Regions from separate parts of the Homo sapiens genome. Here all the other regions are linked to region 1. Evidence: promoter capture Hi-C in human tissues and cell types (Jung and others, 2019). All regions are on one chromosome and are shown on one strand. Each heading gives the region's core, a stretch centred on a gene start or on the middle of the fragment in contact. The rest is flanking DNA. Distances are from core to core; before and after follow the strand shown.

Evidence for each region. Contacts are between HindIII fragments. The study calls those that stand out against the background at their distance.
Region 2: a fragment that was not itself captured here is called in contact with the fragment with the promoter of ZNF136 in region 1 in 1 of the 25 tissues and cell types used here (dorsolateral prefrontal cortex).
Region 3: a fragment that was not itself captured here is called in contact with the fragment with the promoter of ZNF136 in region 1 in 2 of the 25 tissues and cell types used here (adrenal gland and lymphoblastoid cells).
Region 4: a fragment that was not itself captured here is called in contact with the fragment with the promoter of ZNF136 in region 1 in 1 of the 25 tissues and cell types used here (lymphoblastoid cells).
Region 5: a fragment that was not itself captured here is called in contact with the fragment with the promoter of ZNF136 in region 1 in 1 of the 25 tissues and cell types used here (liver).
Region 6: the fragment with the promoter of ZNF443 here is called in contact with the fragment with the promoter of ZNF136 in region 1 in 3 of the 25 tissues and cell types used here (adrenal gland, mesenchymal stem cells and small bowel).

Annotation. Positions count from the first base shown.
Region 1 is chr19:12,161,164-12,165,092 of GRCh38, forward strand. ZNF136 (zinc finger protein 136) reads left to right here and starts at 1,933. Exons shown (of 4, transcript NM_003437.5): 1 at 1,933-2,043. The coding sequence starts at 2,041. RefSeq lists enhancers at 1,774-1,863, 1,874-2,033. The HindIII fragment of the contact is 18,447 bases long and covers 1-3,929 here.
Region 2 is chr19:11,651,903-11,655,831 of GRCh38, forward strand. It overlaps the pseudogene ZNF887P. Among named protein-coding and RNA genes, the nearest start is that of ZNF627, 56 kb to the left of the region's middle. The HindIII fragment of the contact is 4,182 bases long and covers 1-3,341 here.
Region 3 is chr19:11,687,094-11,691,022 of GRCh38, forward strand. No RefSeq gene overlaps it. Among named protein-coding and RNA genes, the nearest start is that of ZNF823, 50 kb to the right of the region's middle. The HindIII fragment of the contact is 6,716 bases long and covers 1-3,929 here.
Region 4 is chr19:11,850,302-11,854,230 of GRCh38, forward strand. All of the region lies in intron 1 of ZNF439 (zinc finger protein 439), which reads left to right. Among named protein-coding and RNA genes, the nearest start is that of ZNF439, 3.5 kb to the left of the region's middle. The HindIII fragment of the contact is 4,001 bases long and covers 113-3,929 here.
Region 5 is chr19:12,457,942-12,461,870 of GRCh38, forward strand. ZNF709 (zinc finger protein 709) reads right to left here. Exons shown (of 4, transcript NM_152601.4): 4 at 3,243-3,929. Among named protein-coding and RNA genes, the nearest start is that of ZNF443, 19 kb to the left of the region's middle. The HindIII fragment of the contact is 6,925 bases long and covers 1-3,929 here.
Region 6 is chr19:12,439,272-12,443,200 of GRCh38, forward strand. ZNF443 (zinc finger protein 443) reads right to left here and starts at 1,750. Exons shown (of 4, transcript NM_005815.5): 1 at 1,641-1,750. The coding sequence starts at 1,643. RefSeq lists a silencer at 1,429-1,518 and an enhancer at 1,929-2,198. The HindIII fragment of the contact is 16,773 bases long and covers 1-3,929 here.

The DNA.
Region 1 (3,929 bases), core at 683-3,182:
ACACTGAGACTAATCTGGAGCCTGCAAAGGGAGGGAAAGGGAGCTCCCCCGATTGCTTCCTGGGCAGCCTGCCTTCCCCTGTAGGTAGTCTCCAGCTGCTCCGAACAGCTCCAGCTCCAGCTCCAGGAGTGTGGATTCTGAGAAGCTGCAGAGCCCTGGAAAGCAGGAACTTCACAGGCAAATGCACGTGCGGGTTTCTCTCCTTTCTGAGGTTGTACCTCTAGTTTCCCAAGGTAGTTTTCCGGAAAACTTTTTGTTTTTTGAGACGGAGTCTTGCTCTGTCACCCAGGCTGGAGTGCAGTGGCGCGATCTCGGCTCACTGGAACCTCTACCTCCCGGGTTCAAGCGATTCTTGTGCCTCAGCCTCCCCAGAAGCTGGGATTATAGGCGCCCGGCTAATTTTTGTAATTTTAGTAGAGACGGGGTTTCGCCATCTTGGCCAGGCTGGTTTTGAACTCCTGACCTCAAGTGATCCGCCCGCCTCGGCCTCTCAAAGTGTTGGGGATTACAGGCATGAACCACTGTGCCCGGCCTTGATTTTTCTATGTATAGAGTTGCTGCAGTCAGGCTGTAATTTGTATATATGAAGAAAATATGTAAAGATCATATTTAGAGACTCATTTAGGTAGCGTTCCAGAGAAATGGTTTATGAGCTAGAGAGGTTGGAATTTCAAGGGGCCTAAATTGACCACAGGTGAGAGTTTTCTGCTGGTGTAAATTATTAAGGTATTGAAGGAGGGAGCGTTCCCACATTGTGATGCTGTGACAGGAGGGCATGTTGAGCTCCCAGAGTTAAATCCTTAGGTTTCCTGCCTCATCATCAGGGTCTAATGTACTCTGTGGCTCCACTTCAGCAGTCACTGACTCTTAAGCTTGGGAATATGTTCTACCTTCTGAATTCATCTTTTCCTTTTTAAATGTTCTGAAGTGCCCTGCTTATCTGAGCTAGTTCAAATTTTCGCTTTACTTCCCTTTTGATTTCTTTACAGATTACGGAAATAGAACTTGTTTTTCCATGTATTTAATAATTTTATTCACTTGTTGGCAGTTTTTTATTTTCTTGGGTGAAAATGAGTAGATTGATTTGGGAGGCGAAAGTGGGAGGTTCACTTGAGGCTAGGAGTTCAAGACCAGCCTGGACAACAAACGAAATCCCGTCTCTACAAAAAATTAAAGAATTTGCCGGGCTTGGTGGCATGTACCTGTAGTCTCTACTACTCAGGGGACTGAAGCGGAAGGTTCGCTTGAACCCAGGAGATGGAGGCTGCAGTGAGCTATGATCATGCCATTGCACTCTAACCTGGGTGGCAGAGCTAGACCCTGTCTCAAATAAATAAATAAAGTAATAAATAAGTAAATAAAGTAATAAATAAGTAAATAAAGTAAAAAATAGAGAGAGATAAAGAGGTATGGTATGAGAAAGCCTTGGGCACGCTTCCCATATCCTCATCCCAAATTTCCGATCCCTGGGAATATCACGCCCTTTCTTCTGTTCCAGTCCTGCCTGGAACTCCCTGCGCACACCTGTGACTCCTCATGCAAGAGGTAGATGAAGAAATGACCCACTGAGTACAGGAAGTATCTCCTTTGGTAAACCCGGATTAAGTTCTGCTAAAATGCAAGTATCTCCCATCTCCCCATCCCCCGCAGACCAAGTACAGTGAAGGGGACGAGGGGAAGAAGTCCACCCTGCGTTTGAGGGCTGGGGCCAAGACCCCTCATTCCCGCTTCACTCATCTATGCTTCACATCTCCTGTCATTCACATCTGTCAAGATGCAGGGGGCAGAGCCCGAAGCTGTACCCAATCAGGGGCACCGGGGAGGAGCTCTGCGATCGGTCCAATCAGGCGCGCCGTCGGGGACGCAGCTGCAGACGTTCAACCTTCTCGCGGGATTTTCATTTCTCGCGTCTGCCGTACTTGGTTTCGCTTCGCTAGTCCCAGAGGCCCAGAGTGGCTCGCCTGGAGTCTCTGTGGCGCGGTTTCCTGTACCTGCCTTGGGATCCGGAGGGAGGAAGCTGGGACACCCGGGAGTCAGGAAATGGTGAGTGTGTCGGGCCCTGCGTCCCGAGACAGGGAGGAGGGGCTGGTTGGACGACCGGAACTGGCTGTGGCGCGGCCCGGGCCTTCCCGTGGGCGACTCTGGGTCTGCGTACCGAGTCCCTCTGGCGCAGCTCAGCCCTTGGTACCCTCGGCCTCAGGGTGGGGCTGGGCCGGCAGCCGGGACCCCGGGCGTCCTCGTCCCGCCCTGTGCCGCGATTGCGGCCCCGGCCCCGAAGACCCAAGTCTCTTCAGATTGTGCGGGGCCCACGCGAGGGTCATGGGGTGGGGGAAATCCTGACTTGTGCGTGGAAGGAGCTGTGGTGTATGAGGTTCCCAGTTCCTTTTCTCTCCACAGAGGACACCCGTTTTTCCCTGAGTTTTCTAAGTGTATGGGATGCAGGGTCCCAAATCCTCACTCTGTCCCCCAGCCTGCTGTTTCCAGGGCTTGCAGTAAATCCCCAAATTTCCTGTTCTCTTTTCGCTTTTCCAAACGCCAACCTCTCCCCTTCCATTCACGACATTAGCAACCGTTTCTCCTATATTCTACATTTCAGATATTGTGCTTTCATTGTTTATTTTTCAACAAAGCAATGGATTACTCTTTCATCAAGGTTTGTTTTCTGTTCATAGCCTTGACACTCCGCTGTAAGAAACCTTTGTGCTTGTCCTTTTGTCTCCTCTATGCACAGATACCTCATCAGAATGTCTTTGAGTTGAGGTTCCCCTTTGGAATCTTTACAGGGTGATATGCCTTCAGCGCCCCCTCCTATTTATTTTTTCCTGGTTCTGGGTTTCAAAACTGTCTGGGGCTGACTCAAGCTGCCCACAGCTGCCAAGTCTCTTGGAGGATCTAGTGAATATTGGGTCTTGGGTGAGTCTTCCTAGAGGACAGTTGAAATAGAAGGCTGGGAGAATGCCCTGGGACTAGGATAAATCTAGCATACCCTGCTTCTAAATAGCCAACCTCTGGGGGCACTCAGCTTTTCCTCCCCCAACCCCAGTTTCCATCCTTTGGAGACACACTGGTGGTCAGCCAATCAGATGCTGGTATTGAGGATTGAGAAAAGAAAATTTTTTGTGTGTTTTGAAAGAGTCTCGCTCTGTCGCCTAGGCTGGAGTGCAGTGACGTGATCTCGGCTCACTGCAACCTCCATCTTCTGGGTTCAAGCGATTCTCCTGCCTCAGCCTCCCCTGTAGTTGGGACCACAGTTTTGCGCCACCACTCCCAGATAACTTTTTTTTTTTTTTTTTTTTTTTGAGACGGAGTCTCTCTGTCGCCCAAGCTGGAGTGCAGTGGCGTGATGTCGGCTCACTGCAACCTCTGCCTCCCGGATTCAAGCGATTCTCCTGCCTCAGCCTCCCCAGTACCTGGGACTACAGGCGCATGCCACCACGCCCGGCTAATTTTTTGTGTTTTTAGTAGAGACGGAGTTTCACCTTGTTAGCCAGGATGGTCTTGATCTCCTGACCTCGCGATCCGCCTGCCTTGGCCTCCCAGAGTGCTGGGATTACAGGCGTAACTGTACCCGGCCTCAAAAAAATAATTTTCGTCTGATAAATGTGGGTCCTTTTAAATGAACGGGCACATAGAGACATTCAAGTGATACAGCAATCACCTTCTAACTCCCTGAAGCTATGAATTCATCTTTTGAAACTGCTATTGCCACAAGTAGGTATAATCAACTTACTAATGCAACACGGGACCCTGGAACCCACACCCTATAGCTTAACAGTGCATAGCCACGCGCTTATCAATGTTACTTCTGTAAATCAGTGAGAATTCCTGACAAACAACTTTGTATCAGCCCACATCCTGTCCCCCTTTTTCAGACACTTTGGGTCATATTTTGTGTTTCAGCCTCTACTTTTTAGGTCGACAAGGGAAAA
Region 2 (3,929 bases), core at 1-2,500, 510 kb before region 1:
ACCTTCAGCTGCCTCCACTCCTTCCAAACACATGAAAAGCCTCACACAGGAGAGAAACCCTATGATTGTAAGGAATGGGAAAAAACCTTCGATTCTCCCCAAACCGTTCGAAGATACAGGGTAGTGCACAGTGGAGATGGACCTTATAAATGTAAGTTTTGTGGGAAAGCCTTTGATAATCTCAGTTTATATCTCACACATGAAAGATCTCATACTGGACAGAAGCCATATGAATGTAATGAATGTGGGAAAGCCTTTGGTTTTCCCAGCTCCTTTCATAGACATGAAAGAATGCACACCGGGGAGAAACCATATGAATGTAAGCAATGTGGGAAAACCTTTAGTTGTTCCAGTTCCATTAAAAAACATGAAAGAATCCACACTGGAGAGAAGCCCTATGAATGCAAGCAATGTGGGAAAGCCTTCGCTTCTTCCAATTCCTTTCAGTATCATGAAAGGACTCACACTGGAGAGAAACCCTATGAATGTAAGCAATGTGGGAAAGCCTTTAATTGTTCCAGTTCCCTTAGAAAACATGCAAGAATTCACACTGGAGAGAAACCCTATATATGTAAACAATGTGGTAAAGCTTTTAGATTTCCCAGTTCTATTAAAAATCATGAAAAGACTCACACTGGAGAGAAGCCCTATGAATGTCAGGAATGTGGGAAAGCCTTCAGATATTCCAGTTCACTTCGAGTACATAAAAGAATTCACACTGGAGAGAAGCCGTATGAATGTGAGGACTGTGGGAAAGCCTTCAGTCATCCCACGACCTTTCATAGACATAAAATTACCCACACTGCAGAGAAACCTTATGAATGTCAGGAATGTGGGGAAGCCTTCCGTTATCCTGTTGCTTTTCGTAGACATAAAATTACCCACACTGCAGAGAAACTTTGAGTGTAAGGAATGTGGGAAAGCCTTCTGTTATCACAGTTCCCTTCAAAGACATGAAAGGACTCACAACGGAGAAAAGTTGTGTGGATATAAAAAATGTAAAGCCGGCTGGGTGCGGTGGCTGACGCCTGTAATCCCAGCACTTTGGGAGGCCAAGGCGGGCGGATCATGAGGTCAAGAGATTGAGACCATCATGGCCAACATGGTAAAACCCCATCTCTACTAAAAATACAAAAATTAGCTGGGCGTGGTGGCATGTGCCTGTAGTACCAGCTACTTGGGAGGCTGAGGCAGGAGAATTGCTTGAACCTGGGAGGTGGAGGTTGCAGTGAACCGAGATTGTGCCACTGTACTCCAGCCAGGTGACAGAGTGAGACTCCGTCTCAAAAAAAAAAAAAAAAAAAGTAAAGCCTTCCACTATTCCAGTACCTTCTGAAACCATGAAAGAACTGACACTTGAGAAAAACAATGATGTTAGGAACATGGGAAACCTTTCCTTTCTCTCTCAATCGTTTGAAGGCATATGGTGTGACATGCTGGCGATAGACCTCATAACTGTAAGGAACATGGAAAACGATTCTTGTTTTCCATGCTCCTTGTTTATTTTAGATACATGAAAGAATTTACTCTGGAGAGAAACTATGAGTGTAAAAAATGTGGTAACGCCTTGTGTAGTTTCTGTTTCTCTGAAATACTGTCATGTCCTGGTATTCTCAGGGGATTAGTTGCAGGCACCCCGCTCCCCACTTCAGAACATCTAAATCTGAAGATGCTCAAGTGCTTTATATAAAATGGTGTATTTTCCTAGAACCTAAGCACATCCTCTTGTACACTTTAAATCATCTCTAGGTTATCCATACTGCCTAATGCATTGTAAACGATATAAAAATAGTTGTTTCATTGTGTTATTTAGGGAATGCTGACAAGAAAAAACATCTGTAGATGTTTAATACAGATAACCATCACATGCCCACCTCCATAGTACAGGCCCACCTCATAGTATATGTCAGCTACAATGAAACATTTTCTTTTTTTTTTAAAAAACGTTTTGGATTGGTTTCATTTAATGGCCTCAAAAACACGTGTTAACATTCTCCAAATCCTTGGTTCTTCTCTCCTGATAACCCTCATGTGATGATTGCTCTGTGGTTCCTAAAGCTGCAGTGTGTTGAGGTGCTTAGATATGTGGCAGTGTAGATAAGTCAGGGGACATCAGTTTAACTTGAATTTTCTTTTTTTTTTTTTTTGAGATGGAGTCTTGCTCTGTCACCCAGGCTGGAGTGCAATGGTGTGATCTCGGCTCACTGCAACCTCCACCTCCTGGGCTCAAGTGATTCTCCTGCCTCAGCCTCCCAACCAGCTGGGATTACAGGTGCCCGCCACCACACCCGGCTAATTTTTGTATTTTTAGAAGAGATGGGGTTTCACCATGTTGGCCAGGCTGGTCTTGAACTCCTGACGTCGTGATCTGCCCACCTTGACCTCCCAAAGTGCTGGGACTACAGGAATGAGCCACCCTGCCCGGCCAGAATTTTCTTTCAGGACATCAGGAGGATCCTCTGCTGGAAGAACCAACATCTGATTGCAGATGTTGCCTCTTTGGTGGAAGGTCAGTAACACAAATCTTGGATCTGTGGTGTTTGAGGGCTGAAAATATTTAAGCATCGAACTTTCAGTCCTTTTTTTTTTTCTTTTTTTTTGAGATGGAGTCTCTGTCGCCCAGGCTGGAGTGCAGTGGCACGATCTCAGCTCACTGCAACCTCTGCCTCCCAGGTTCAAGCGATTCTCCTGCCTCAGCCTCCCAAATAGCTGGGATTACAGGCGCACACCACCATCCCCAGCTAAATTTTGTATTTGTAGCAGAGACAGGGTTTCATCATGTTGGCCAGGCTGGTCTTGAACTCCTGATCTCTGATGATCTGCCCACCTTGGCCTCCCAAAGTGCTGGGATTATAGGCGTGAGCCACCGCACCCTGCTGAAGTTTCAGTCTTCATAATTGCAGATGCTTTAGTTGGAAACGTTGTCATAGGAAAAGCTGTTTTTTCTTTCTCTTTGAATCATCAAACACATCTTGCAATGGTTTTGGCCATGTTATCTCTGGTGACCTGGAAGCGACTTTGATATTAAGCTTCAGAGTATGCTGAAACAAGTCAAGACTTTTGGTGATGTTAGGATGGTAAGCATGTATTTTGCATGTGAGGTCATAAATTTAGGGAGCAGGTAGAAAATTATTGCTTTATTTGTCCCCTGAAATTCATATTATTATTATTTTTTTGAGAGAGTTTTGCTCTTGTTGCCTAGGCTGGAGCGCAATGGCACAATCTTGGCTCAATGCAACCTCCACCTCCTGGTTTCAAGCGATTCTCCTGCCTCAGCCTCCCAAGTAGCTGAGACTGTAGGCATACGCCACCGTACCCGGCTAATTTTTTGTATTTAGTAGAGACAGGGTTTCACCATGTTGGTCAGGCTGGTCTCCAACTCCTGACCTCAGGTGATCCATGCACCTCGGCCTCCCAAAGTGCCGGGATTATAGAGATGCGCCACCACGCCCAGCCCTGAAATTCATATTTTGAAACCTTACTCCCTAATGTATGGAATGAGGAGATAGGATGCCTGGGAGGTAATTAGGATTACTTGGGATCATGAGGGTAGAGTTCTCAGGAATGGGACTATAAGGTTCCCTAGAGAGCTTGCATTTGCTCTCTATTATGTGAGGACACAATGAGATGAAAGCCTTCTTTGAACAAGGAAGCTTGCCCTTACCAGGCACTGAATCTACTATCACTTTGATCTTGGAGTTCACAATCTCCTGTATACTGAGGAGCAAATGTTAGGTGTTTAATACACCCAGCTTATGTCATTTTGTTTTAGGAGCCCCTGGTGGATAAAGCACAACCCCATTAAAAAATAGGTGAAGGAGTTGAATAGACATTTCTCTAATGAGGATGTACAAATAGACAATAATTACATAAAGAAGATGTTCAGCATCACTCATGGTTTAGGGACATGCAAATCAAGAGCAAAATGA
Region 3 (3,929 bases), core at 872-3,371, 470 kb before region 1:
TAGACAACCACATTGCAGCTATCTCCCTACTTTACAGGGTAGTGTCTGTGCTAACCCTTGCTTCTGCATCTGGGTAAAATACTTCCAGTCAGACTGAATTGGGAACATATAAGATCTTAAAACCAGCCAAATCTCTGAAAGGGACACCTTCAGAAACCCTCCTGTCTAGACTTACTGGGTTACATTTCCAATTTCCAGATATTTTCAGCTGGCTCTTCCCCTGGTATAGGATTTCTTCTCCATTCTGCCCTACAAGTCTCAATGATCCTATTTAAAATATGCATTTGGCTCCTCTTTAAAATTGTTCTATCTTGTTTCAACAGATGCCTCCAAGAGACCCCCACTAGGTTCTTGCTGACCTAATACTTGAGATTTTAAACTCACTCCAGCTGGCCACTGAAACCAACTTAACCCAAGAGATTTTGGCTAAAATTTAACAGGTTCCTGAGAACCTCTTATAAGTAAATGGCTATAGTTGCCCAACTGGCCACTGCCCTGCCATTAGGATCCCTGCATGGGATGGACCCACAGCAGGTCACTGGTACCATGATAGAACACACACAAAAACTTATGAATGCTGTCTGTGGACGGGTTAGAGTCAGTCCTTCACACTGGCTAACTGGGCCTAAGTTTTAAAAAGAGCTAAGCCGCCACTTGTTAACTAGGGGTCACAAGCACTGTGAGTTTCCTGAAAACCAACACCTTTTTAACTTTGGGGGCTCACCTGAGCTAGTCAATCAGAGCTCAGCTGTATCAACCAATCAGAACTGAGTTTCAAGTTTCAGATCTTCATTTGCATAAAAGCACTTGACTAGGAACCCAGATGGGAACTTTTGCTATAAAACCTAAGCTTTCCCTTGTTCTCTGGAACAAATAATGTTTAGGTTGCAAACTCCTTATGCCTTTTCCCCAGAACTATGTAGAAATAACGCCTTCTAAAATGTGATCTTGATACCAGGGAACTCCTTTTTTTTTTTTTTTTTTTTTTTTTTTTTGAGTCGGAGTCTTGCTCTGTTGCCCAGGCTGGAGTGCAGTGGCGTGATCTCAGCTCACTGCAAGCTCCGCCTCCCAAGTGGCTGAGAGACAGGTGCGCACCACCACGCCCAGCTAATTTTTTGTCATTTAGTAGAGATGGGGTTTCACCCTGTTGGCCAAGATGGTCTCAATCGACCTGACCTTGTGATCTACGTGCCTCGGCCTCCCAAAGTGCTGGGATTACAGGCGTGAGCCACCGCACCTGGCTGATACCAGGGAACTCCCAGAGCAAAGCACTAAATACTTTCATTCCTCTAAGGTCTATGACTCTAATCAGCAGAAAGTAGTTAGAGCAGTTATCATTCCTTTTCCTTCAAGACTTAGGAATGAACATAATAGGAGGGATTTGTAACCACAACAGATTATGTGGTACAACTTCTATATAACAAAGCTGAGTTTTCAGTTGCCATGGACCCAACACTCAAGGTCACATAATCTGAGCATGCCCAGATGAACCAAATGTGTAACCATGGGTGGAACCTATATGCTTGGACTGAGGTGTGGAGATTAAAGTAAAAAGTAGATGCTGGGCACGGTGACTCATGCCTGTAATCCCAGCACTTTGGGAGGCTGAGGTGGGTGGATTGCCTGAGCTCAAGAGTTCAAGACCACCCAGAGCAACATGGTAAAACCCTGTCTCTGTGAAAGATACAAAATATTAACCAGGTGTGGTGGCGCACACCTGTAGTCCCAGCTACTTGGGAGGCTGAGGCAGAATTGCTTGAGCTCCAGAGGTGAAGGTTGCAGTGAGCGAGATCATGCCACTGCATTCCAGCTTGGGCTACAGAGTGAGGCTCTGTCTCAAAAAAAAAAAAAAAAAAAAGATACCACATGGTGGAATCTAGGATCTAATCAGGTTGGGCCCCGGTATCATCCCATGGCAGGATCCAATCGAGTCACATTAACCTGGCATGAGATCATTGCAAGATGCAGTGAGTTCATGTCTTATTACCCCACGCTTATAAAACTTGCCAAAGCCCCCAGCTCAGGGAGACATATTTGAGCATTTCTTCCTTTCTCCTTGCCAGTCAAACTTGTAGTAAAGCTTTTCTTTCTTCAAAAGCTGGTGCCATGCTATTGGCTTGTGTGTACATCTGGAAGTGAGCCAATTCACTACTTGCTAACATAACAAAGAATCAGCAACTGTGAAGATGAAACAATTAAAATTATCCAGTCTGGGCCAGGCGCGGTGGCTCACACCTGTAATCCCAGCACTTTGGGAGGTCCAGGTGGGTGGATCACCTGAGGTCGGGAGTTCGAGACCAGCCTGACCAACATGGAGAAACCCTGTCTCTACTAAAAATACAGAATTAGCTGGGTGTGGTGGTGCATGCCTGTAATCCCAGTTACTTGGGAGGCTGAGGTAGAAGAATAGCTTGAACCAAGGAGGTGGAGGTAGCAGTGAACCGAGATTACGCCATTGCACACCAGCCTGGGCAACGAGAGTGAAACTCCATCTCAAAAAAAAAAAAAAAAAAAAAGAAAGAAAAAAATTACCAGTCTGTGGAAAAGAAAGAGGAAAGAAATTGAGAGAATGTGTTACTAGTATACCTGCCTTGCCAGTCATGTTAAAGTTCTTCAGAGCGAAGGAAACTGATACAGGTTAGGAAAGCAGATGTTTCAGAAATAAAACTTGTTAGAAAATAATTAAATGAGGGCACAAATATGATTATCTTTTCTTCTCCTTCATAGATAAATGTTTGTTCAAATGAATATCAACAATGTATTGGGTGGTTATAGCTTCTAACAGGTCAAATGCGTGACAGTGATATTATATGGGATTGGAAAGAGGAATTCAGAACACTCTTAACATATTGGCACTACCCCAGACACCAGTATAGTGTTATTTGAAAATGAAAGTCCATTAGTTGCAAATGTATACTGCAAACTATGGAATTCACTAATAAAATTTAAGAAACAAGTAGACTTACTACACTAATAGAAGCAAGCAAATGGAATCATATAGAACGCTCAATTAAAAGGCAGAAAAATAGAGCAAGTAGAAAAAAAGCACAAGTACAACAAACAATATATATGAACATATTAATCTATGTCAATTACCACTTTGAATGTGTATTTTTTTTTTTTTTTGAGATGGAGTCTCGCTCCATCGCCCAGGCTGGAGTGCAGTGGTGCCATCTCGGCTCACTGCAAGCTCCGCCTCCCGGGTTCACGCCATTCTCCTGCCTCAGCCTCCCGAGTAGCTGGGACTACAGGTGCCCACCAACACGCCTGGCTAATTTTTTATATTTTTAGTAGAGACGGGGTTTCACCATGCTAGCCAGGATGGTCTCAATCTCCTGACCTCGTGATTCATCTCAGGAAGACAAGATGGGTGGATCACTTGAGCCCAGGAGTTCTCAAGACCAGCTGAGCAACATGGAGAGACCCTGTCTCTACAAAAAATAAATACAAAAATTAGCCAGGCATGGTAGCACACGCCTGTAGTCCCAGATGAGGTGGGAGGATTGCTTGAGTTCGGGAGGCACAGGTTGCTGTGATCACACCACTGCACCCCAGCCTGGGTGCCAGAGACCCTGTCTCGAAAAATAAATAAATAAATAAATAAACCAAAAAACCTGATTTATCTGAATTTAATATAGCCGTTCCATACTTTTGAGTAGGGCTAGAATGGCATATATTTCACCATACCTTTCTATTTAAGGTATCTGTGTCTTTCTGTTGAAAATGGTTATCTTTTACACATTGCTGGGCCTTGTTTTTAATTCTACTCTGCCAGTGCCTGTCTTTTTTACTGGTGTATATAGATAATACACATTCAGGCCGGGCGCGGCGGCTCATGCCTGTAATCCCAGCACTTTGGGAGGCCGAGGTGGGTGGATCAACTGAGATCAAGAGTTTGAGACCAGCCTAACCAACATGGTGAAACCCTG
Region 4 (3,929 bases), core at 863-3,362, 310 kb before region 1:
GACCTCAAGTGATCCACCCCCCTCGGCCTCCCAAAGTGCTGGGATTACAGATGTGAGCCACATCGCCATGCCAGAAGATATGTTTTTATTTTTGTTTTACATGTTTAAGGCTAGGCTTTTATAAGGTACATGAGGAGACAAACCAGATAAATGCTTGATTGGTTGCAGAGATGCAGTCGCCTTATTTGGACTTGTCAACCGGAAATAATCAAAAGGTTCAGATTTCAGTTGGAAGAGTTTATTCAAGCAGAAAGATAGCAATGACCAAAACACAGACTCCAGAAAAATGGACTCAGTACTCCAAAATTGGAAGTTATGTTCTTGCTTATATTACTGAAAAAAGAGGTCCTGATCAGACCCCAAGAGAGTTCTTGGATCTCACACAGGAAGGAATTCAAGACGAGTCACAAAGTGCAGTGCGAAGAGAGTTTATTGAAAGCTACTCTGGGCCAGCATGATGGCTTAGGCCTGTAATCCAAGCACTTTGGGAGGCCCAGGCGAGAGGATCACTTGAGCTCAGGAGTTCGAGACCAGCCTGGGCAACTTAGCGAAACCCCGTCTCTTCCAAAAATAAGAAAAATTAGCCGGATGTGGTGGCCTGTGCCTGTAGTCTCAGTTACTCAGGAGGCTGAGGTGGGACAATCACTTGAACCTGGGAGGCAGAGGTTGCAGCCCAGCCGAGGATGCGCCACTGCACTCCAGCCTGGGTAACAGAGTGAGACCCCATCTCAAAAAACAAAAACAAAACAAACAAACAAAAAAGAGTTGAAGACCAACCTGGCCAACACAGCGAGACCCTGTCTCTATTTAAAAAAATAAAAAAGAAGAAGAAGAAGAAAGAAAGCTTCTCTGTTACAGAGTAGGGCATCCTCATACAGCAAGAGGAGGAATGTACTGTCTTAAGTTTTTCTTATGTAGGGATCTTGTCTATGTAAAGAATAAACTAAGCTGTGCCTACCTGCATGTGGGCTGACAGCATCACAAAATTTATTACTCTGTTGATTTAAAGAAAACTATCCTTTACATTTTAGTGCACAAGTGCATTAAAGCATAACTATAATTACCTTGAAAGCACATATTATGGGTATTGGGGTATTGGGACATCGGGACATTCTGTCGTTGTGGGAGTGTAAGGATACTTGCAGGCATCTTCAGGCTGTTTTCTTCATGGGAAACATTTTATGACTATGGGTTGTGACTGGCAAGGAGTGTTTCTTGTTAGTCTCAAGATGGAGCTGGTTGGTCTTTCTCTGGCTCCCCTAGGCACCTGCTTCCCTAACACTTATATAGGGAAACGGCAAATAAATATAATAGGATTACATTTTCCATAGAAGGCTGATGTATGAGGTACAATAATTTAATTTTTTTTTTTTTTTGAGGCAATGTCTTGCTCTGTGGCCCAGGCTGGAGCAGTGGTGCCATCACGGCTTACTGCAGCCTTGACTTCCCCATCTTGAGCACCTCCGCCTCCCAAGTAGCTGAGACTATAGTCGCCCACTACCACACCTGGGTAATTTTTAATTTTTTATGGAGGTGGGGTCTCGATACATTGCCCAGGCTTGTCTCTAGCTCCTGGCCTCAAACAGTCCTCCTTCTTTGGCCTCCACAAGTCTTGGGATTGCAGGCGTTAGCCAGTGCACCTGGCTAACAACTTAATTTGTTATCGTTTGCTTTTTTCCCCCAGAGCTTGTTTTCTTTTCTTTCTAGCTGGTTTTTATTTCCTTTTCAATTTAAAAGAGTGAATTCAACATTCCAACTGAAGACAATGTGATAGCCATGAAGTCTTTGTGTGAGAAAGTTAAGAGGGAAGTTAGTCTACTACAGAGATCAGTAGTGAAGAGGGGCCCAGTGGGATGGCTCACACCTGTAACCCCAGCACTTTGGGAGGCTGAGGCAGGTGGATGGCTTGATCTCAGGAGTTCAAGCCTGGGCAACATAGTGAGACCCCCCATCTCAATTGTGAAAAATCATATTAAATAAATTAAAAATAGCAAAGAGGGAAAGGGTCTTTCCTGTTTCCCTTCAGTCATTTACAACATTTTATAAAACAGTATAGGTAAGAAGGAAGGCGAATCTGTAATCAAGGAAAGAGGTGTTCCAGCTGGCTATTTGAAAGCTGTGTGTCATGTGACTCAACCCCATGATCACATTGCTTCAAGACAGTTTAGAGATGCACCAGCTTAAATATTTGAATTACTTGGTTGTTTTTGTTTGTTTGTTTGTCTTGAGACGGGGTCTCACTCTGTCGTCTAGGCTGGAGTGCAGTGGTGCAATCTCAGCTCACTGCAGCCTCCACCTCCTAGGTTCAAGTAATTCTCCTGCCTTAGCCTCCCAAGTAGCTGGGATTACAGGTACATGCCACCATACTCGGCTAATTTTTGTATTTTTAGTAAAGACAGGGTTTTATCACATTGGCCAGGCTGGTCTCCAACTCCTGTCCTCAAGTGGTCCACCCACCTTGGCCTCCCAAAGTGGCGGGATTACAGGTGTGAGCCACCATGGCTGGCCTGACTTACTTCTTCCAACAGCCTATATAGGTAGAAAATTTCTAGTTATGTAATCAGAGGTTAATTGGTGGACTGTGCCTGATTAAGCATAAATTTCATTTTTCTATAAATTAGTAATTTTATTTATTTATTTTTTTTGAGACGAAGTTTCACTCTTGTTGCCCAGGGTGGTGTGCAGTGGTGCAATCTCGGCTCACTGCAACCCCTGCCTTCCAGTTTCAAGCGATTCTCCTGCCTCAGCCTCCTGAGAAGCTGGGATTACAGGCGCCTGCCACCACGCCTGGCTAATTTTTGTATTTTTAGTAGAGACTTGGTTTCACCATGTTGGCCAGGCTGGTCTCGAACTCTTGACCTCGTGATCCACCTGCCTTGGACTCTCAAAAGTGCTGGGATTACAGGTGTGAGCCACCACGCCTGGCCTAAATTAGTAATTTTCAAGAGTTGTATTTCAATTTGATTTCAGGGTCGTTAGGTACCACGGACCCTACTGGATTGAACAAAGGAGGACGAATGCGGGAATAAAGACAAAGGCAAAAGAATATGTTTGGAACAAGGGGTCAGGGGGCTTCTTGCTTGTAGTGAACGTGGGCCCCGAGCTTCTAGCACCCTTCATGTTTACTGAGTAAAGGGGATAGAGAGAAGCGGGTGGTTGTAGGTCAGCTACTTGATTTAGAGCAGGCCTGCATGACTGCATTTTTCAAACAATAGGCTCCAGATGTCCCAGTAGATAACCTCAAGCAGCACAGCACCAGGGAGTGATTGTCCTCAGTATACCTTCTGGCAGCAGAAGCAGATGTGAGTTTGCCCACATTCTGCATTCATGATAAACAGTTCACTGTTTATCATATAGCCTTCAGTGGAAAGCTGAGTTGGTCACAACCTTTGGGCCTTGGGCTCCCAACATCTCTCCCTTTCTGTTTATGCATTAATTGAATGAATGTAAGGCCAGGTTGGGCAGCTCTCATTTTCTGATTGGCGGTCCATCTGATTTTACAGACTATGAACAAAAAACAGAGACTAAACAACATCATTCCAATAACTATATATGAGATGTTAATATAGTGCTTTAGATTGGTCCAAATATTGAGGCTCTCTAGGCCTTGCAGGAATTCACTCCAGACTTCTAAGGAAGGCTGAAACTCTTGAGTTTGCTTATTTAAGTCAAGAATTTTGTTTTGCAGTTCACCAATATCAAAGGTCCCGTGGATGCTCACTTTGGTTGTATTCTAAGTTGTTTACACAAATATGAGTGGCATTAAGATGACAGCACAATTGCTGTTGCAATTGTAAGCTTTGTGCTTGTTCCCCTAACCATAGAACTATGGATTTCAACATTGCCACTTCAGTTTGTAACTCAGTGTTAATTCTATTATGAAGTAGCCACACTTGGTTGGCTGTATGCATCCAGTTCTGCACGTACTG
Region 5 (3,929 bases), core at 567-3,066, 300 kb after region 1:
CAGTGCTAAGTACTAACATAAGTTACCACTGAAAAAAAATGGACAAAGATTTTATTTCCTTTGCTCAAATTTAGTAAGACACAAATATTTTACTTTCCCCCCACTCTTCCCAAACATGTGAATACCAAATTGGGATCTGGGGACTTTCTGGAAGCATTGAAACAAAAAGATTCAAACTACTACTCTTGTAAGAAGGCATTAAATTTTTCCTTATATGATGACACCAAATATTCTTCCTTTCCATTAAATTAGGCTATTATGCAAAATGATTCCCTGTCTGCAGCTCACCTCCATTATTCCTTGAAAATTACCCTCTAAACATCCATAGATTTTTTGGGTGGTACATATTGGGTCATTCAGTCTGCACAACAGCAAAATGATCATGTCAAATATCCAAGGCAACTTAAGAATCTTTAAAATGACATTAAACAGAAATGTAAACATCATCAACACCTGTGGCCCAAATCAATAGGAAATCTCAAATCCTAAATACTCATGTCCAAATTCATGATCATGCTTTACATGTCTCAAAAATTTTATCCATTATAAAAATAAAGATGAACCATATCTACACCTTTGTTTATGGGGAATCATTACTGTTCATCCCAGGGATGTAGGACTGTATTGTTCCCCAGCATACATCAAACCTGAGCAGTTCCTCAGTGTTTTAATAAGATATGTTAGATAGGCCAGGCTCAGTGGCTCATGCCTGTAATCCCAGCACTCTGGAAGGCTGAGGCAGGTGGATCACGAGGTCAAGAGATTGAGACCATCCTGGCCAACATGGTGAAACCCCGTCTCTACTAAAAATACAAAAATTAGCTGGGCGTGGTGGCACACACATGTAGCCTACTCAGGAGGCTGAGGCAGCAGAATCACTTGAACCTGGGAGGAGGGGGTTGCAGTGAGCCAAAATCACGCCACTGCACTCCAGCCTGGCAACAGAGTGAGACTCCGTCTAAACAAAAAAAAAGGCCAGGCGCGGTGGTTCACGCCTGTAATCCCAGCACTTTGGGAGGCCGAGGCGGGTGGATCATGAGGTCAGAAGATCAAGACCATCCTGGCCAACATGGTGAAACCTCGTCTCTACTAAAAATACAAAAAAAAAAAAATTAGCTGGGCGTGATGGTGGGCGCCTGTAATCCCAGCTACTCCGGAGGCTGAGGCAGGAGAATGGCTTGAACCCAGGAGGCGGAGGTTGCAGTGAGCCAAGATCACACTCCAGCCTGATGACAGAGAAAGACCCTGTCTCAAAAAAAAAAAAAAAAGATATGTTAGATAATGGAAATAAATGATCAATGACAATATTGGAGGTCCCTACCCTCCAAAGCTAAGGTATCCAACACAACCATAGCTTCCCTATTAATCTCACAGGTTGGTTGTTATTTCATTTCCTTCAAAGATCTTAATTGCTTTCTAAAAACCAAATCCTCACCTTTTATTAACCATCTCTCTTTTCCCAAATCTATAAGCAACAGGAAGGCAAGAACTTGTTTCATGTTTCTATATCCATAGCCTACAATGTCTTGATTATTTGTGCTGAATTGTGTATGCTTTGATACTACAGTGCCAGGCCTATGAGAAAGGTTAAAAAAATCAGCATCAAGAGCAAGATGGCTTGATTTGAACAGTGATTCTGTCTTTGCACCTTGCTAGGTTTGTGGTCTCTGAAAACTTATCTACACTTACAGGACTCTGCTAGTGCACAAAAGAGAAAAAAAAGTATATAGTTTGCTAAAGACTCAGTGAACTTACATATTTTGACTGAGATATTTTGTGGAAAACATTGTCCAATACACCATAAGAAATATTTCCATGTTTAGATAATAAGAAAGGTTAAGAGCAGTTCCACAGGACTAGGATCTGACCTCACACTCAGATAAGGCCAAGTCTTATCCTGTTGAAGAGAAAAATGTCACATTTCCTTCATCAGACAAAGCTACTCAGCAATCATGATGGATCAAGACAAAAACAATAACCATGTCTCTAAAAATGGTAAAAGAGAACAGAGTTGAAGCCATTAAAATGACCAAAATTGCCCTCTACTCACTAATCCAAGTGAGTGGTTTCTTAGGAATTAGGTTTAGCTCCACTTCATTCTTCCTGCCTCTAGATAAGAATTATGATTACCAGTGACACAATTAAGTTCACCTCACAGCAGGCAACACACACAGGAGTGTCTCAGTTTGGTGATTAGCAATCAAGTCACCCAACAAATCCAAATCCAAAAAGAAGTTGTTTTGAGAAGGAGTCTTGCTCTGTCGCCCAGGCTGGAGCACAGTGGCGTGATCTCGGCTCACTGCAACCTCCACCTCCTGGGGTTCAAGCAATTCTCCTGCCTCAGCCTCTTGAGTAGCTGGGATTACAGGTGCACGCCACCATGCCCGGCTATTTTTTATATATTTTTTAGTAGAGATGGGGTTTCACCATGTTGGCCAGGCTGGTCTCGAACTCCTGACCTTGTGATCTGCCCACCTTGGCCTCCCAAAGTACTGGGATTACAGGCATGAGCCACTGCGCCCAGCCGAGCACCCTCTTACTGATACTCCCCAGAGTCATTTATGGTTTATGATCATTCTTATTCCTACAATTCTTAACACTCTTCTCTTGACTACAGGTGTGATCCTGGTGATCTTTGAAAAAAAGGCACTGAAACAACCATGATTTAAGTTTTTGGTATTATGAATGCATGAGAAATTTTCTGGGAAAAAATCATAACTATATTAAGAATAAAAAATAAAAAATTCCTAAGGAAAATACTTGATCTTGTATGCACATAATATTGACTCAGAATATATGAGGATTAACTCAATAAACTTAAAAACTTAATCTGAAAATCACTGGATTAAGAAAATGTGGCACATATACACCATGGAATACTATGCGGCCATAAAAAAGGATGAGTTCATGTCCTTTGTAGGGACATGGATGAAGCTGGAAACCACCATTCTCAGCAAAGTATCACAAGGACAAAAAACCAAACACCACATGTTCTCACTCACAGGTGGGAATTGAACAATGAGAACACTTGGACACAGGAAGGGGAACATCACACACGGGCCTGTTATGGGGTGGGGGGAGGGGGGAGGGATAGCATTAGGAGATATACCTAATGTAAAAGACGAGTTAATGGGTCCAGCACACCAACATGGCACGTGTATACCTATGTAATAAACCTGCACGTTGTGCACATGTACCCTAGAAATTAAAGTATAATAATAAAAAAACTTAATCTGAAAATCTATAATTGCAATGGAATATTTTAATATATCCTTGCAGAAAATTAAATAGACAAGTGATAGCATACAAGTTATTTGAAAAGTTAATAAAATATTTCTAAGAAACATCTACAGAAGCTTTTGTTCAACAAAAACATACACATGGTTTTTAATCACATATAATGAAACAAAATTGAAAATGTACTGAGAGATGACATTCAACTGTAATAGGAAACACCGACAATCTGCTTGATATTAGGAAGGTGCTTATTCTTACACTGTAGGACTGGGTAAGTGCATTCCCTGCACAGTGCAGTGGAGAAGCAGACACCCATGTAGTTCTTTTTGACTGCACCACTGTAGTTGTCACGGTGGAATCAGAAACACATAGTCACTGGTACTGTTAACAAAACATGGTGTTTATTACATAAATAATACCTTGGATAAATTCAACCTAGAGATGAGGTGAGTCAGAGCATCAGAGAATATTCCCAACCTTAAGAGTCTAAATGGTTGCCTGGTGGACACATTAGAGTTTCTAGGAAAATCCAAACTGCAGTGCATCTTTGAGTAGAACTTTTGAAGACAATTTGTGGAAAACTACATCTTTGAAAATATGGCAGCTGGGGCCATGCACAGTGGCTCACGCCTGTAATCTCAGCACTTTGGAAGGCCAAGGTGGGCAGATCATGAGGTCAGGAGTTTGAGACC
Region 6 (3,929 bases), core at 500-2,999, 280 kb after region 1:
TCATGTGTCTCCAAGGAATGGAAACTAGGGTTGGGAAGAAAAGGTGAGTGTCCCAGGAGTTAGCTTTTTACAGGAATTATATACCAGAAGATTCCTCCCATCCCAGTGGATCCAGTTGCTCCCCAGGGGGCCACACCTTCCATCTCAGGCTGTCCCCTGGGAGGAGTGACCCAGGGGATGATATTCACTAGACCCTCCAAGAGACTTGGCAGCTGTGGACATCCATTTTTTTTGAGACAGGGTCGGCCTCTGTTGCCTAGGCTGGGATGCAGAGGCACGATCATAGCTCACTGCAACTTCAAACTCCTGGGCTCCAGCCATCATCCCACCTCAGCCTCAGGAGTAGCTGCGACTACAGGTGCCAGCTACCAAGCCCAGCTAATTTTATTATTATCATTTACACTAGAGACAAAGTCTTGCCATGTTGCCCAGGCTGGTCTGGAACTACTGGGATCAAGCAATACCTCTGCCTTAGCCTCCCAAGGTGCTGGAATTACAGGAATGACCCACCGTGTTCAGGAACCCAAAACAATTCTTTCAAGAAAAAGCCATACATTGCTAGCTGAAAACAAGATGACAAACTAGTGAAATATCGCCTGGGGCCAAACAGTTCATACTGTTGCTGTGAATTAAGGACAGAAGGTTAGCCTGGGGAAGTCTCTGGAAACCAAGAGATTTGCTGCCAGCCCTAGGAAGAGTCAGGATGAGAGAACACAGTGGTGGATTTGAGACCCTGCTGCCCACGTCTTTGGAAGACTCAGAGGGGAAACGGTCGCCCTTGGAAAGGAAGAAAGGACTGAGGACCACGGAAACCACAGCTCCTCCCACACACAAACCCCACACACGAGTCTGGATTCCACCTGGTGACTCGTCGTCACCGTGCAGCCTCCTCACCGGGTTCACAGGAACTGCGAGCCAGGCTGGAGGCGAGATTGCAGTTAGATATTAAACAGGTGCCCTCAGCCCCGCTGCCTCAAGGGGCCGCCTCCCTGAGAGTCAGGTCACAGCAGACGCTGACCGCCGGCTTCCCCATTGTGCCTGGGGATAAGATCTCCGAGTGCTGCTCAAGAGTCGCCGGAGTTCTCAGATCCTGAATCCCAGCAGAAAGGCTGGCGCCAACCAGGTTGAAGACCCCACGAGGGAGCCCTCTCAGCAGAATGCGGTTTCTTCACCTCCTGTCCCAGGATTCACCCCTCACTTCCCCACCAACCAAGGACGCTACACCCAGCCGCCCCCGTCCAGACCCCAAATCCCTCAGGGAGGCGGATCTGGGGTGTCCTCCCCTCTCCTCCTGTTAAACCGTTTCTGCTGCAGCCCTCGGCGTCTCGGTGCAGTGAGTCGGGCCGCGAACCTGTGTTGGTTACAGCCGCACAATCTGGGGAGACCCGGGGCTGCGGGCTCGGAGCTGCCCAGAGAGGGCGCCGGGGCCGCAGTCGCCGCGCAGGAACGGGACAGGACGCCCGGGGTCCCGGCTGCATGCCCAGCCCCACCCTGCGGCCGAGGGCCGACCTACGCCAGGGGGACCCGGGTCCGTAGATCCCGAAGTCGCCCTTGGGGAGGCCCGGGTCCAGCCACAGCCGATTACGGCCGGTTCCACCTAACCCCTCCCCCGCCTCGGGACGCCGGCCCAGCACACGCACCATTTCCCGACTTCCGCGGTGTCCCAGGTCCTACCGACAGCTCCCGCTGCCAATGCGTGTTCCAGCCAGACAAAGGCTGCCTCAGAACTTCCAGGTCGTCTCTCAGCTACAGAACCCAGAGCCGAGCGCAGGTGGGTGGAGCAGACGCCGCGGGCTTTTTCAACCACACACACTTCTCTGGGCAGTGCCTGATTGACAGTTCCCACGAACCCGCCCCACGCCCCTGATTGGATAGGGCGTCAGGTCCCGCCCCCTGAGGGCTGATTGACAGAAGAAGCGATCTTGCACAGCTGAGTGGAGCCGGATGAGCAAGTTCCTGACACAGCCCTTGGCAGGGGGGGCTTCCTCCCTGCTCTTTGATCTGAATCCTCCCGGGTTATATTTGCACTTAAGCGGAATTTCCTGCCCGTACTCAATAGGACCTCCTGCTTCTTCCTCCTGGACACGGACTGACAAACTAATTATATCTTTTTTTTTTTTTTTCCTCGAGAGGGAGTCTTGCTCTGTCGCCCAGGCTAGAGTGCAATGGTGCGAGGCTCACTGCAACCTTCGCCTCCTGGGTGGGTTCAAGCAATTCTCCTGCCTCAGCCTCCCGAGTAGCTAGGATTACAGGCACGCGCCACCACCCGGCTAATTTTTGTATTTTTCAGTAGAGGCTGGGTTTCACCATGTTGGCCAGGCTGGTCTCAAACTCGTGACCTCGTGATCCGCCTACCTTGGCCTCCCAAAGTTCTGGGATTAGAGGCGTGAGCAACTGCGCCTGGCTCCAATTATGCTCTTTTTCAATGAAATTTTTCAAGATTTTTCAATGTACAATTAAATTATTTTTTACTATAGTCACTCTGTTGTGCTAGCAAATACTAGGTCTTATTCATTCTTTGTAACTATTTTTTATACCTATTAACCATCCCCACTTCCCCCATAACTACTCCTCGCTACTACTTTTCGCAGCCTCTGGTAACCATCCTTCTACACATTTTTGGTTGTTTGAGATGGGGTCTTGCTCTGTTACCTAGGCTGGAGTGCAGTGGGGCCATCATGGCTCACTGCAACCTCTACCTCCTAAGCTCAAGCAATCCTCCCACCTCAGCCTCTCAAGTAGCTTCAGATTGTTCACTGTTGGCATATAAAAATGTTATTGATTTTTGTGTGTTGATATTGTATACTGCAACTTTACTGAATTTATTTCTCAGTTCTAATACTTTTTTGGTGGAGTCTTTAGGTATTTCCAGATATAAGATCATATTATATGCAAACAAGGATAATTTGACTTCTTCCTTCCCAATATGGATGCCCTTTATTTCTTTTTTTTTCTTTTTTTTTTTTTTGTCTTATTGCTCTAGCTGGGACTTCAAGTACTGTGTTGAACAACAGTGGTAAAAGTGGGCATTCTTATTGTGTTCCAGATCTTACAGGAAGGGCTTTCAGTTTTTCCCCATTCATTATCATGCTAGCTGTGGGTCTGCCATATATAGCTTTTATTATGTTAAGGTATGCTCCTTCTTTACCCACTTTTTTTTAGGGTTTTTATCATGAAGGGATGTTAAATATTATCAAAAGCTTTTTCAGTGCACATTGAAATGATTATATGGTGTTTGCCCTTTATTCTGTTGAAATGATACATCACATTGATTGATTTGCATATATTGAACCATCCTTGCATCCCAGGGATAAAGCCCACTTGGTCATGATGAATGATCTTTTTGGTGTATTGTTAAATTCAGTTTGCTAGTATTGAGTTGAGGATTTTTGCATCAATATTCATCAGTGACACTGGCCTATAGTTTTCTTTTTCTGACATGTCTTTGTCTGGTTTTGGTGTCAAAGTAATATTGGCTTTGTAAAATAAATTTGGAAGTATTGCCTTCTCCTCTGTTTTTTGGAATAGTTTGAGTAAGATTGGTATTAGTTCTTTTTTAAATGTTGGTAGAATTCAGCAGTGGAGCCACTGGGTTCTGGGGTTTTCTTTGCTAGGAGACTTTTTATTATGGCTTTGATCTCATTATTTGTTATTGGTCTGTTCAGGTTTTTTATTTCTTCATGGTTCAATGTTGCTATGTTCTATCTGCCTAGGAATTTATCAGTTTCTTCTAGGTTTTCCAGTTTATTGGCATATAGTTGTTCTTAGTTGCATTAATGATCCTTTGAATTTCTGCAGTATCAACTGTAATGTCTCCTTTTTCACCTCTAATTGTATTTATTTGGGCCTGGTTTTTTCTTAGTCTACCTCAAGGTTTGTCAATTTTGTTTGTCTTTTCAAAAAACCAACTTTTTGTTTCATTGTTCTTT